Linked DNA regions of Homo sapiens: region 1 is linked to region 2. The links are contacts of gene promoters, found by promoter capture Hi-C in blood cells and fetal thymus (Javierre and others, 2016). All regions are on one chromosome and are shown on one strand. Each heading gives the region's core, a stretch centred on a gene start or on the middle of the fragment in contact. The rest is flanking DNA. Distances are from core to core; before and after follow the strand shown. Region 1 overlaps SNX10 (sorting nexin 10). Region 2 holds the start of LINC02860 (long intergenic non-protein coding RNA 2860).

Region 1 (7,156 bases), core at 1,229-3,728, 260 kb before region 2:
ATTTTATTTGGTTGCTCATTTTGACAACACAGAGATTCAGTGCTCCTAAAGATTTTGGAGAAATTTACAGTTAACCTTAAGTATTAAAAAAAGCCATCTCTCTCATGAGCTGTCGTAAACATGCCCTTAAGTATATAACTGTAAAGTTTTAAAATGTAAAATATGCTGAGAATTGTATTTTCTTCATATAATTTTTAATAGTAGTTGAAAGTTTTGATGTTTCATGACAGCCTATCCCATAAAGATCACTGAATTGACATGCTGTTGGCAGTAAATTTTTTAAAGTAGAATAACTTTCTATGACTATATAAGCAAAATATTTCCATAATTAATCCACATGGTAATAAGAGATGGGTAAATTGAAGAAATGTCCTTGAAGTTATTCTTTTAACAGATGTTCTTAACTATTAGCTTCATGTTTTTACCCACCTAAATTTCCAAATAATTGAATAAAAGTTAACATATGCTTTCCTCCCCTTAATGGGCAGAGCCCATAATTGATACAAAGTTTACCACAGTAGAGAAATTACCTTCAGTGGTACTTTTCTAATGTTTTTCTTTCTTCTACCCTATCACTGACCATCCTGTTCACCAATTATTTTTCCTTTTTTTTTTAATATAGAGTCCTACAGAATGCACTTTTGCTTTCAGATAGCAGCCTTCACCTCTTCTTACAGAGCCATCTGAATTCAGAAGACATTGAGGCGTGTGTTTCTGGGCAGACTAAGTACTCTGTGGAAGAAGCAATTCACAAGTTTGCCTTAATGAATAGACGTTTCCCTGAAGAAGATGAAGAAGGAAAAAAAGAAAATGATATAGATTATGATTCAGAAAGGTATTTCCTTGCATTTTGATTTAATGTATATGTATTTATATAATACATAGTATGCACATATGCACGTGTATAGATATATATACACACTTCACTTTTTTGTTGATATAATACTAAGATAATGAAAAAATTAATTGACTGAGATTTTATTGAGCTGTGACAGCTCATCATAGTAGTCTTCACACACACCTCCACACTGAATTAATGAATGCAGTAGAAATTCAATTATTTGCATTCTGATTATGTGACTTTCATTTAGTCAGACTTGAATTATTCGCGTTTAAATTATCTAGCTAAAAAAATACCCAACTGCACTCCAAATGGCTAATTAAAAGTCCAAATTTCCTGTCTCTCTTTGTGACTGGAGATAATTAAAGTTCTCCTCTGTTACTCAGGCTTTGAGTGTGTTGTGAAAACCAATTTCCTCTTTTTATTATTTTCCCCCTCTCTTCTTTTCCAGTTCATCCTCTGGGCTTGGACACAGTAGTGATGACAGCAGTTCACATGGATGTAAAGTAAATACAGCTCCGCAGGAATCCTGAAAAATAATTCTAATGTTACTATCTTAGGAATAGCAAATTATGTCCAGTCATAGAGAAGAAAGCTTCATAATAATACATTCTTACCTAAAGCTCACTGTCATGATGTTAGGTATTTAAATTCTTAAAGATGTTGGGTTGTTTATTAGTGGTATTTTTATGTTGTCTTATTTTAGGTAAGCTTCTGTGTAAAGCTAAAAATCCTGTGAATACAATACTATCCTTTACAGGCAGACATTATTGGTAAACAAGATCTTGCCCTCCAATGAAATGACTTACATGTTTTAAAAAACCGAGTTGGTTTTATTGAATTTAAAAAGATAGGTAACTAAGTAGCATTTAAAATCAAGATAGAGCATTCCTTCTTGTATCAGTGGGGCAGTGTTACCATAAACACGGTGTATATGTTGTTAAACCCTATGAAGAGTAACAGTGTAGACCAGACTGCCTCTCTCAGATATGTGCCTGATATTTTGTGGATACCTCCCCTGCACTGGCAAAACACTATGCTTTTGGGTGTTAGACTGAAATATTTTAAGAGTATTTAACCTTTCCAGTATTCTGTTTCACGCTTAGATGGAAATGTATCTTATGAATAGAGACATATTAAAATAATGTTTACATCTTAGAAAAAACATAGATAGTGCTAGTAATATTACTTATAACTGTAATATATAGATTCAGAAATACATTTTCATTATCCAAAATCAGCTTCAACAAATGGTTTCTGGAGACAAATAATTTGTTTTCATTATCATTGTATAATCAGGTTAATGATTTATTTTTTGACTAAATGTGCAATTTCTTATCACTAGATAACTTTCAGTATCAGTGGTGGTTACTTATTACTTAAATCAGAGGAAGGATTTTATAAAGATTAATAAATTTAATTTTACCAATAAATATTCCCATAATTTAGAAAAGGATGTCGACTTGCTAATTTCAGAAATAATTATTCATTTTTAAAAAGCCCCTTTTAAAGCATCTACTTGAAGATTGGTATAATTTTCATAAAATGTCTTTTTTTTTAGTGTCCCAAAGATATCTTAGATAAACTATTTTGAAGTTCAGATTTCAGATGAGGCAACATTTTCTTGAGATAATTACCCAAGTTTCATCCATGTTGAATGGTACAAAATATTTCTGTGAAACTAACAGGAAGATATTTTCAGATAACTAGGATAACTTGTTGCTTTGTTACCCAGCCTAATTGAAGAGTGGCAGAGGCTACTACAAAAAGCAACCTTTTCATTTTCACTAAGAGTTTAAAAGCTATTGTATTATTAAAAAGTCTTTACAATGCTTGTTTCAAAGAACCAACAGAAAAAAAAGCTAAGAAAACTGAGAACTAACATTAAAAAAATTAAATTTAGAATAAGAATGATTTCTTTAATTTGTCCTTTTTTTCTTTGGTCTAAAACATTATTAAATTTTTGTAAATATTTTGATTTAATGTGTCTTAGATCCTCATTATTTTAATACAGGAAAAGAAAAGATTTAGTAATTTCTTACCATGCTAATATGTAAAGTTCATGCCATCCAGGCATTTAAGAGCGATCCTCATCCCTTCAGCAATATGTATTTGAGTTCACACTATTTCTGTTTTACAGCAGTTTTGAAAAACACATACTATGCCACCAATTGTCATATTATTTTTAGATGATGTAACATAGCCATCAAAATTAATATTATGTAATGCCTAATACTTAGTATGTAAATGTCACGAGATCATTTTTACATTAAACGTGAAAAAAAATCAACTTTGCCGGATCACTTATTTTATACAAGAGAATATATTCTGCCTTAGACCCAAACTCAGTGTTTTTTATTTTTTATGAGGAAATTTGGTAAAACATGGTTTAATATTAGCTATAGTTGTACATATTTGAGGCTTTTAGCCTTGGTTTAGTTGTTTCAATGTCCACACACTGGCTTCTTAAAACTGATTTCTTGCAGCTGAGATATTTAGATGAACTTCAGTTCCCAGTGGTTTTCTTGCTTTGTCTCTTATTTTTCTCTGGCATATTTTTTATAAAGCTTTCTTTAGGAAAAAGAAAATAATTACTGATGTAGCTAACTTGAATAGATGTTTATTTAACACTATTTTTAATGTGACTTAAATGTAAAGAATTCTAATCCTGGATTCTTTATGATTACAATACAGCAAAACTGCATTTTCCCTGGCTGATTCTTAAAGGGTAAACTATTCACCTATAAAGCCAACTTACGTGTTTTGTTGTAGAACTAGATTTATATATAACCCAAAGGTGTCAACAGCACTGAACGTCAACAACCTGTTACTTCGGCTTCTTATAAAGTCTCACTTAGAAGAAAGTTACTTAATTCTAGTTAAAATTTCAAGTTTTAAAAATTACTAGGGACAAACAAGTATTTATTTTTAAGCAGATACTATTCCTTAAGATATGAAGTATCTTGCCAGTTTTTCAAACCTAGTCCACATTTTATTGAATAATTAAATACAAACAAGTGATATGCAGTATAAAGTAAAAGAACAAAGTTTCTTTTATGACAATTAAGAAGTTAAACAACTTCATTTAGCCTGGCCACAATAACCGTTATATCCAACAGTAAACTGGACGTTGTTTTGAATTTGGTTTGTATTTGTTGGATGCCTTAAGGATTCATTATTATTGAGCTACTGTGATACCAATAAGGTTTTCAGTATTTGAGCTATAAAAGACAACCCCTTTTCATTAGAGGCCCCTTAACATTTTAAACGAAAATAACAAAGCTTATTCTGTTTCTAAATAGTCTTCCTCTTAATATTTAAATTACTTAGCTGGTATCCTGTGAATACAAGGCAACATCTTTTCAATGAAGGAAACAATTTCAGTACAATTTTGTGTTTTTGTTTGGAATATAGACCTTTTCTTAGTTTATTATATATAAACACATTTTCAAATACAAAATACTGTCTGAAATTAGTTACTGCAATTTGACATTCAAAGCATAGAATTTTCTTTGCAAATAAAGGTCATAAGAAATTAATAATTTTAATAGAGTGGAGTTCAAAAATTTCAGAAGGATGTAAATAAGCAACAATTTCTTTAACATTTGCTATATATACAAAGGACTTTGGTTCTATTCTTTGCCATATGCATCTTACAAACGAGTCACCATTGTCCCTTTTTAGCAGACACAATTGCGCTTCACTCCTACTGCAAACTTTTCTAGATCATGAGCAGTGCATTGGACACTAATTTATTTTAGCTGCGCAAACTCTGGTAGTTAATGACCCTTTCTCTTTCTCCAAAATTCCAAAGACTTCTTTTCAAAAGATATAGAGGAAAAGAGAAAAAAAACCATTAAGCTACAATTTCCTGCTGAATTTAAACTCTGGTCTAAAGACACTATGTAAATGGCTTATGCTAAAGAGGAAAATACCCTTTCTCCCCCGACGAGAAGTGTAGATTCATCCAACCCCACACCGCTTGTCTTTGCTGCTAGAGGCACAGCACGGGCATAACTTGTGGTTGTGTTTTTGCTAGTTTCTTACCTCTGGGCCTTCTTTATAGCTTTGCCCCCCACCCCACTGGCGGTGGCGCTCCCGCGGCTGCACCCTCGGCCGCCTGTTGGTTGCGGCGCCTCCGCGGCCCGCGCGCATCCCCCGCGCTGCGTCCCGCACACGCGCGCTCCCGCCGCGTCCCGCCCGGGCCGCTCCGCTGGCGGCGGCGACTGGGCTGCAGGTAGCGAGCCAGCCGGCCTCGGTCCGGTAACCCATGGCAACCGCCCTGGTAACCCATGGCAACTGCGCGGCGGAAAGAAAAAAAAGAACCGTGGTGGGGCGGGGGGCGGCGGGCGGTGAATGGGAACAACGACCGCAAAGAGACAGCGATTTACCGCGCGGGCCTGCGGCTCCCGGCCGCACCTGCTGCAGACGGCCCGCGAGGCCCCTTCCCGCGCTACGGTGACGATTCTGGCTGCTGGGGAAAAGAGCAATAAGCAGAAAGCCCTCGTGCAGAGGGGATCCGGGCGGTGCACTTGGTGTGGGAGGCTGCCTTAAACGCCGATGACCCTCCCGGCCTCCGCGTGTCCCGGCTTCCAGGGCCCCGCCAGGCTGGAGAGCGCGCGTGGAGAGGGCCTTGCCGCCTGGGGGTTGGTTGAGGGGCGGCCGCGCCGGGGCCGGGGCTGGACTCCAGGCTTTGTTCTGCAGACGCTCGCGCCCGGCCGGAGGAGGGGCTACACCGTGCTGCCCCGGCCCCATGGGGCCCGGCCCCCGAGGGTCCCCGCGAGCGGACGCGGTGGGGCCGGGCAAACTCTACGTGCCCTAAATTTTGTCATCTGCACACGCATCGCACACATTAGTTAACCCCTTTCCCTTCTAGGCCCCCGAGAACCTAACCTGCCCGGCGGGCGCGCGGCTGCGTTAACCTGGCCCCTTCCGTCTGGAGAGGGAGGGGACGGTCGCGCCTGGTGGTAGGACTGGGCTGTGTGTGTGTGTGTGTGTGTGTGTGTGTGTGTGTGTGTGTGTGTGTAGGGGGGTGATACAAGTTTTCCACCCGCTTTAGGCTGAGGCCCTGTAAGCGGGACTGTGTTCTAGTACCCGGAAAAAGCGCGCGGCCTGTGACACATCAGGTGCCAGGCCGCCGGAGGACAGAAGGGGGCGCTGCCGGGCCAGTGCGGAGGCTGCAGCCGCCCACTGCAGAACGCGCCCTTGGTTGGGTCTGGCGAGCTGCCCGCGTAGTGGAGTGGTGTTAGGGCTCCCAAGTAGAAAGAACCTGTTCCCTACGTAGGTGTCGGTTGTACTTAAGAGCATCATTTGGTCGCTCGTGTATTCGCAGAACCCCTAGCCTGCAATAAGATGGTTCAGGAAACACAACCAGAACCGGTCTCATTCGGTACCCAGCAGCTACGTGCATACAAGTCCAGAGACATGTAATGGGGTGGAGGGACCACGCTAGGAATCTGGAGGTCACACATCCAGGTCGAGTTTTAACTAGCTGTGATTCCAGGCACATTGTGATGTTATAAAAAGGAAAAGATTTGGCCTGGATGATTATGAGGTCCTCAATCAGACCACTCTCTGTAGGTGTGTTACAGTGACAAATACAAATAGCAAAGCCATCTGGAATACCTTTGTTTTTTTTTTAAGGCAAAGGCCTATGCAAATATAATATGCACACGCTTCTGAAAGATGATTAGATCAGCACGGTTTAAGATACCCCATATTTTTACTGGTAGACAAGAGAAGCCGGCTATGTAGAGAATCCTATTTTAATCCTTTCATAAAGACAAGAATCTTAGATCTTAGGGAAACTTGGCTTATTTTCACAAATATGCACGTTCTGGGTTCCACTGCTTATAGAGGACCCGGTACTGGGGAGCATGTGCTCTAAAACCTGTTTTAGAGGTAAAACACAGGTGCTGACCTGCCCTGGGATCCGTGCAGTACAATCCCAGCTCTCTGCATAGCGGTGTACTGGGAGCCCTGTGCTTTCGTTTAATTTTTTTTTAAACAAAAGAAATTACAGAAAAGTGCAAATTTAACGTGTGACATTTAACATTTTGCCGTGGCAGGCAGCCTCCACTTAAATGGGGCCTTTCTGCGGAACAACAGGAGCCAAAAGGCCTTGTGTCATGGAGTAATGTAAGACACAATCTGGGCTGCAAACGCACAATGAATCGGGAAGGATTTATGTAATTAATTGACCAGTCTTAACCTGTTATCGTGATGTAAGGAATTTGGAACTCATTAATTTGGGCTCTGACAGATTTCATATTAGAGCTGGCAAATATGGATTGAGCCTCTTATTCTTGTAGCAGC
Region 2 (7,145 bases), core at 445-2,944:
TGGGTGAGGGGGTCCTGGAACCAAACCCCTGTGTATACCAAGGGACAACGGTAGTGGAATTGAACAAATAAGTAAATATATTGTATATGATGAGAGCCAGGGTTTTCACTGTTGGAGAAAGATGTCACAAATAAGAGAAGAAACAAGTATAAAATGATTTCCTGTGGTATAGCTTAGAATCATGGGTATCACTATGAACTCAAGATCTTTAAAGAGGGCAGGAGAGAAGAAGACAGAGGTAGATGGGTATGTTTGTGCAGCTTAGCATGCACACATATATACCTAGCCCTCTGTTTTGAGGGCTTAAAAGCAATACCATTCCAATAACAATGGACCCATCTACAACATAGATCTTGGTCTCTCCACACCATTCTCCTGTAAAAGGAACCAGGAATCGTGAAGAAGTGGCTGATTCCCAAGCCAGGACATGGAAAACACAAGGTCAGTCTGAAACATCTTGTGGTGCCAGAAAATAAGAAAATGCTCAAAATAAAGATAAGAGTCTGTCAAAAGAGCTCGGGAACCAATGTGAAAGAGCGAAGAGCTGAGACGATCTGAGCAGCAAGATAAAGATAGCGTTACATTTTAAGCTAGACTAAAAACATCCACAAATACAATAATTAAACATCCACACTGATATGAATAAACAAACAAAAACCACATAAATAATGAAGGAGAAAAGACAGCGCTTCTGCACAGTGGAACGCCAATGAATACATGTAGAAGGGAAGAGGACAGGACTCCACAGAGTGAGCACTGCAGACAAGATCTGCTGAGGGATGCTAGCACTGGTGAGTGAAAGCTGGAGGACAAACAGGCCATGCCTAGTCTCAAAGCGTCAGCCTAGATACTTATCCACTGCAAAGGGAAAGATAATAACTTGACAGTGAGAAACCCAGCAGACACCACCTTAATCAAGTGACCAAGATCAATGTCACCAGTTATAAGATGTGGCTCTCATGAACCCCTTGAATGATGCACTGAGGAAGATGTGCCATGATTTTTGTGTATTCTCACCAAAAAGGCATAACCTTACCCCACTCATGAGAATGCACAAACAAACCCAAACTGAGGGATATTCTCCTGTGGAACCGATCCATTTTCTTCCAAAGTGTCAGGGTCATGAAAGTAAAGGAGAGACCATGGAACCGTTACCCAGTGGAGGAGAAGAAGGAGAAATACAGCTAAATGCAATTTAGGATCTTAGATTAGATCCTGAGCAGAAAAAAAGGACATTAGTGGAAAAAAATTGTGAGTTTCAAATAGGACTGTAGTTCAGTTAGTTACATTGTGCCGATGTTAATTTCCAGTTCTTAATAGTTGTACTATGGTTATATAAGATGGTGATATCAGGGGAAATGATAGAAGAGATATAAGGAAAGTATATATTACTTTTGCCACTTTTCTGTAAGTCTAAAATTAGTTCAAAACAAAAATTTCTTTAAAAAAATCCTATGTCCTTTCTTTTAACATTAGATGAGATATGTTGATTGAACTAAATAAAAAAGGACCAAGCATGGCTTTGTTTTCGAGTTATTTATGTATGCAGATTTCAGCCTTCTGGGTGAGCTTTCCTGCCGCTGAGTATCACAGATTGTTCCAACACTCACTTTCATCATTTCCTTCACGAGGAAAGAGGCCCACGAAGGTTAAATGACTTATATGAGGTCACAAAGTCACTTGGAGACAAAATCAGCAGTAGGATCTCGGTTTCCAGCCCAGTGCAATTTCTGCTCTATCCCGCTGACCTCATTGTTGAGGTAGGTGGTAATGTAAAGGGAAGAGCTACCCCTTATGGGATGTTTCTTTCTATCAGCCTTTAGAGGGTCAGGTTTATTTGCTGGTGGTAGACTGACAGCCCAACTACTTGATAGAAACCCTACGTTGATGTCAGAATGCTGGACACCGCAAAGCTCTGGGAAGCATCTTATAACAACGGCTCAACCATTTCCTCTTCAAATGTACTGCTTAATCACATAAGTTCCTGATACGGTTTGGCTGTGTCCGCACTCAAATCTCATGCTGAATTGCAGTTCCCATTATCCCTATGTGTCCTGGGAAGGACCCGGAGGGAGGTAGTTGAATCAAGGGGGCGGTTACCCTCATGCGGTTCTCGTGATAGCAAGTGAGTTCTCACGAGATCTGATGGTTTTATAGAGGCTTTCCCCTCCTTCCCTCTGCACTTCTCGCTGCTGCCACGTCGCAAAGGAAGTGTTTTCTTCTCCTTCCGCCATGATTATAAATTTCCTGAGGCCTCCCCAGCCCTGCGGAACTGTGAGTCAATTAAATCTTTTTCTTTATAAATTACCCAATCGTAGGTATGTCCTTATAGCAGTGTGAGAACCGACTAATACAGTTCCTTAGGAAGCCCCTGCTGGGTATGGATGGGGAGTGAAGCAAGGTGGGCCCAGAAGCTGCCGCTGGCTGAGAGACCATGAAGAAAGTGTATAGAATCTCCACCATCACCAGAGGAAGAGAGCTTGGCAGGAAAGTTACTTCCATGAATGGATGAGTTGAAGTGAACAGCGTCTTGGGCAAAACTGAAGGGTAGTTAGTCGGGTTTGTCTCTGGTGGGCTTTCAGCTCCACTCCCTGCATCCCATTCCCACATCGTGATGGTCCCCTCATAGGCCCAGGGCTACCACCTTGGAGCATAGGTGGGGATCCTCCAGCCAGGGTCCTTCCTTCACAGGGAGTCAGAGCCCTCTGCTCCGGAATTGCCCTGCCCCAGGTCGGCCATCTATCAAAAGCCCCACTATCCCCTAAAGACCCACCCTCAAGCAGCAGATGTGCAGCAAGGGAGCCGCAAATGTCATTCCTGTGACCCCGAAGCAGTCTAGTGTGTTACCTCTCTCAGGGCTGCTATGGGCTGAATTGCTTTTCCCCAAAATTTCTATGCTGCTTCCCTAACCCCCAGCGCCTCAGAATCTAACTCTGGATAGGACCTGTGAATAAGTGATTAAGTTAAAATGGGGTCCTGTGGATGGGCCCTAACCCAATCTGACTGGTGTCCTTTTAAGAAGAGGAAGAGACACCAGAGATGTGCACACTCAGAGACAAGACACATGAGGACACAGAGACAAGGCGGCTACCTGCAAGCCAGGGAGAGGGGCCTCGGGGAAGCCAACCCTGCCTACGCCTTGATCTTGGACTTCCAGCCTCCAGAACTGTAAGACAATAAATGCCTGTTGTTTAAGGCCCTGGTCCGTGGTATTTTGTTATGGCAGCCCTAGCAAATGGATACAGGGGTATTTGAAATGTAATTGAGAGAGTTCCTAGGAAATGGAATCACTGCCTTGATTTAGAGAAATTAATGGAGGAGTTGGCAGTGTCATGACACATGGTGGGAAAGGTGTTTGAGGGCCACTGCTCCTCAGGTCACACTGTGGAGGTGGTCTGCTCTGCCTGTGCGAGCCAGGGCTGGCTGACACAAACACACATGTGCACATACATCCCCCCCCACACACACCACAAACACAGACACACACAGACATAAGCACACACCCACACACACCCACCACAAACAGACACATGCGCACATCATACACAAACACAGACACACACAGACCACACACGTCATACACAGACACACCACATGCACATATCATACACAAACACACACACCTACCACACACGCTTCATACACAAGCACACACACACCTGCCACACATACGTACACACATACACACCACACATACACATACACACATATACACACACTACACACATACACATACACACATATACACACACCACACACATATACACACACCACAAATACACACCACACACAAGTATACACCACACACATACATCCACACACATACATATCACACACACAACACATACATATCACACATAGGCACCCACCACACACATCGCACAAAACATACACACACATAGAAGCATATTCACACCCCACACACACCACACACATACACACCACATTGCATGCATATACACACACCACACTCATACACCACACACACATACATATTCACATACACACACACACACGTGTGTGTTCGCGCTTGGAGTGAGTCCTTGGCGTCGTGAGGCACGCTTCCCAAGACCTTCATTAATTCCCCAAATCGCAATAGTAACAGTGGAAACATGGCTTTTGAGGGCCGTCTACAGACCCATCCACAGCAGGCACACGGGCTGCCCAGTGGCCTGCCGGCACCACAGGTCACATGCACATAGTGCTCTGCACGCCATAGCTTGTTTCAGCCTCCCAAGAGTGTTAGGAAGGCATTGTTTTCCACTTTAAAAAAGGACCCATGCTGTGACATTTGAGGTCACCCCAAATAGTCAAGGCCACCACGAATGCTACATCTACAAGTTCCATGTATGCAATGTACATTAGATATATTTTCTGTTCCCGGTCCTGTCATCTCCCCACTCTCCTGGGCTGGTTAAGATAGCTGCCTCCTGCCCCTCTCTCACCGCTCCGCACTGTCCCATCCAGTACCCAGTTGTTCCCTAAGTACTGTTGATTCTCATTTGTGTTGTTTCCACAGCCAGAATCTGAGTGAAATGGGTATAAATCATGAGCTAGGATACAGTTCAATTATTCCTATGATGAAAAGGTAAGTTATTTTCTGGACAGTTTTTCATGTAGATACTATTAAGGAGAAGAAATATCTCAAACATGTTTTTTCATGCAATTTTAGGAAATTCATGAACCCAGGTGAGTTCATTCTAGGTGCACAAACTCCAGATTAGGAACCCCTGGTATCCTGTGCTTTATAAAAATTATTTTTAATTGTGGTAAAATACACATAACATCAAGTTTACCATCTTAACCACTGTTAAGTACAGTCAGCAGCATTAGGTACATTCATATTGTTGTGCAACCATCACCACCATCCATCCCCAGAACACTTCTAACATGAAAAACTGAAACTCCGTCCCCATTAAACAACTCCCCATTCCTCCCTCCCACAGCCCCTGCCAATCACTATTCTACTTTCTGTCTTCATGAATTTAACTACTGCAGGATGTCGTGTACATGGAGTCATGCAGTATTTGTCCTTTTGTGAGTGGCTTATTTCACTTAGTATAATGTCTTCAAGGTCATCCATGGTGTAGCATGGGTTCAAATTCCCTCCTTCTGAAGGCTGAATCATATTCCATTGTAGGTACAGTCAGCCTCTGGATATCTGTGGGTTCTGTATCCATGGATTCAACCAAATGCAGATCAAGAATATTAAAAAGGCCGGGCACAGTGGCTCACGCCTGTAAGCCCAGCACTTTGGAAGGCTGAGGCGAGTGGATCACTTGAGGTCAGGAGACTAGCCTGGTCAACATGGTGAAACCCCATCTCTACTAAAAATACAAAAATTAGCCAGTCGTGGTGGTGCACACCTGTACTTCCACCTACTCGGGAGGCTGAGGCAGGAGAATTGCTTGAATCCGGCAGGCAGAGGTTGCAGTGAGCTGAGATTGTGCCACTGCACTCCAGCCTGGGTGACACAGCAAGACTCTGTCTCAAAAAAATATATATAAAATATATATATAAAATATATATATATAAAATATATATATAAAATATATATATATAAAATATATATATAATATATATATATAAAATATATATATATAATATATATATATAAAATATATATATTTACATATATATACACACATATAAATTGCATCTGTGCTGAACACGTGCAGACTTTTTTCTTATTATTCCCTAAACAATACCATATAACAATTGTTTACATAGCATTTACATTGTATGAGGCATTATAAGTAATATAGAAATGATTTAAAGTATTTGGGAGGATGTACATAGGTTACATGCAAATGGTACATTTCATATCCACAGATTTTGGTGTTTGTGGGAATTCTTGGAACCAATTCCCTGTGGGTACCGAGGAGCACCTGTACATGTCACATGTTGCGTATTCATTCATCGGTGGGTGGACACTGCAGCAGTCTCCATCCCTTGCCTACTGTGAATAACGCTGGTATGGACATGTGCTATCCTGCTTTTATATTTACAAACTCTTCACTAAATTATCAGATTCTCACAATGACTTTGTGAAGTACGTATCATGATTACTTTCTCATTTTTCAGATGAGGACACTGTGACTTTATATGGCCATGTTTCCATTGTTAATATTGCAATTTGGGGAATTAATGAAGGGTTTGGGGAGCATGCCTCACAATGCCAGGGATTCACTCCAAGTGTGGGCACACATATGTGTGTATACGTATGTGTATGTGTGTGTGCGGTATATGTGTGTATGTGAGTGCAATGTGTGATGCGTATGTGAGTGTATGTCTGTGTGTGTGTGTGTGTGTGTGTGTTGTGTGTGTGGTGGATGTGTGCGGTGGATGATGAGTGTGTGGTGTGTGTGATGCATATGTGTGTGTGGTGTGAGTGTATGTGTGTGGTGTGTGTGTGGTGTGTGAGTGTATGTGTGTGGTGTGTGTGTGGTGTATATGAATGTGCATGATGTGTATGTGTGTGTGCATGTGATGTGTGAGTATGTGTTTTGTGTGTGGTGTGTGCAGTGTGTGTGTGATGTGTGAGTGTATGTGTGTGCTGTGTGTGTGTGTGGTGTGTGTGTGATGTGTATGTGAGTGTGTGATGTGTGTGAATGTGGGTTGTATGCATGTGTGTGATGTGTATGAGTGTATGTGTATATATACTGTGTGTATATATAGCTAGGTATAGACATAGGTATAGAAATATTAATAGAATACATAGTTTTGTCCATGGTTCCTGGCCCATAACTCCCATAGCCCTTTTGTTACCATGTTGGGTGCTTTAGGCCTCAGAAAACAGAACCCTTCTCTCTGACCTTCTCCTGCCCTCCTTTTTCTCCCCAAGGCAGGAATATTCCCCCACCTTTCTTTCTTGGAGCTGACCCTAAAGAAAATTTCTGACCTACCTTGCCTGACCGTAGGTCATAAGACCCCCATTTCAGAAGGGGTCCCGCCCCATCCCTGGGGAAGGAAAGCCACACAGACAGGCCAAGAAGGATCTGGACAGACAGGCCCTGCTGGGTTCCCCACTCCGTCTGTTCCTGCTGGATGGTACCCTTTGTGTCCAATCACCTTTCCACATGGTTGTCCGTGCCTCCATCATGCCTGTCCAGTGATGTCTCCGTAAAGGCCAAACAGGATGGGAG

The links. The method cuts DNA at HindIII sites, captures the fragments that hold promoters and counts their contacts. A CHiCAGO score of 5 or more calls a contact.
Region 1: a fragment that was not itself captured here is called in contact with the fragment with the promoter of LINC02860 in region 2 in 3 of 17 cell types (megakaryocytes, erythroblasts and endothelial precursors); the score reaches 7.8 in megakaryocytes.

What each region holds. Positions count from the first base shown.
Region 1 is chr7:26,371,199-26,378,354 of GRCh38, forward strand. SNX10 (sorting nexin 10) reads left to right here. Exons shown (of 7, transcript NM_013322.3): 6 at 623-835; 7 at 1,293-3,185. The coding sequence ends at 1,374. It overlaps SNX10-AS1 (SNX10 antisense RNA 1), which reads right to left. Exons shown (of 2, transcript NR_136272.1): 2 at 821-1,370. Among named protein-coding and RNA genes, the nearest start is that of LINC02981, 24 kb to the right of the region's middle. RefSeq lists a silencer at 5,482-5,691. The HindIII fragment of the contact is 1,856 bases long and covers 1,551-3,406 here.
Region 2 is chr7:26,636,177-26,643,321 of GRCh38, forward strand. LINC02860 (long intergenic non-protein coding RNA 2860) reads left to right here and starts at 1,695. Exons shown (of 4, transcript NR_161202.1): 1 at 1,695-1,760; 2 at 2,319-3,168; 3 at 4,524-4,588. The HindIII fragment of the contact is 19,305 bases long and covers 1-7,145 here.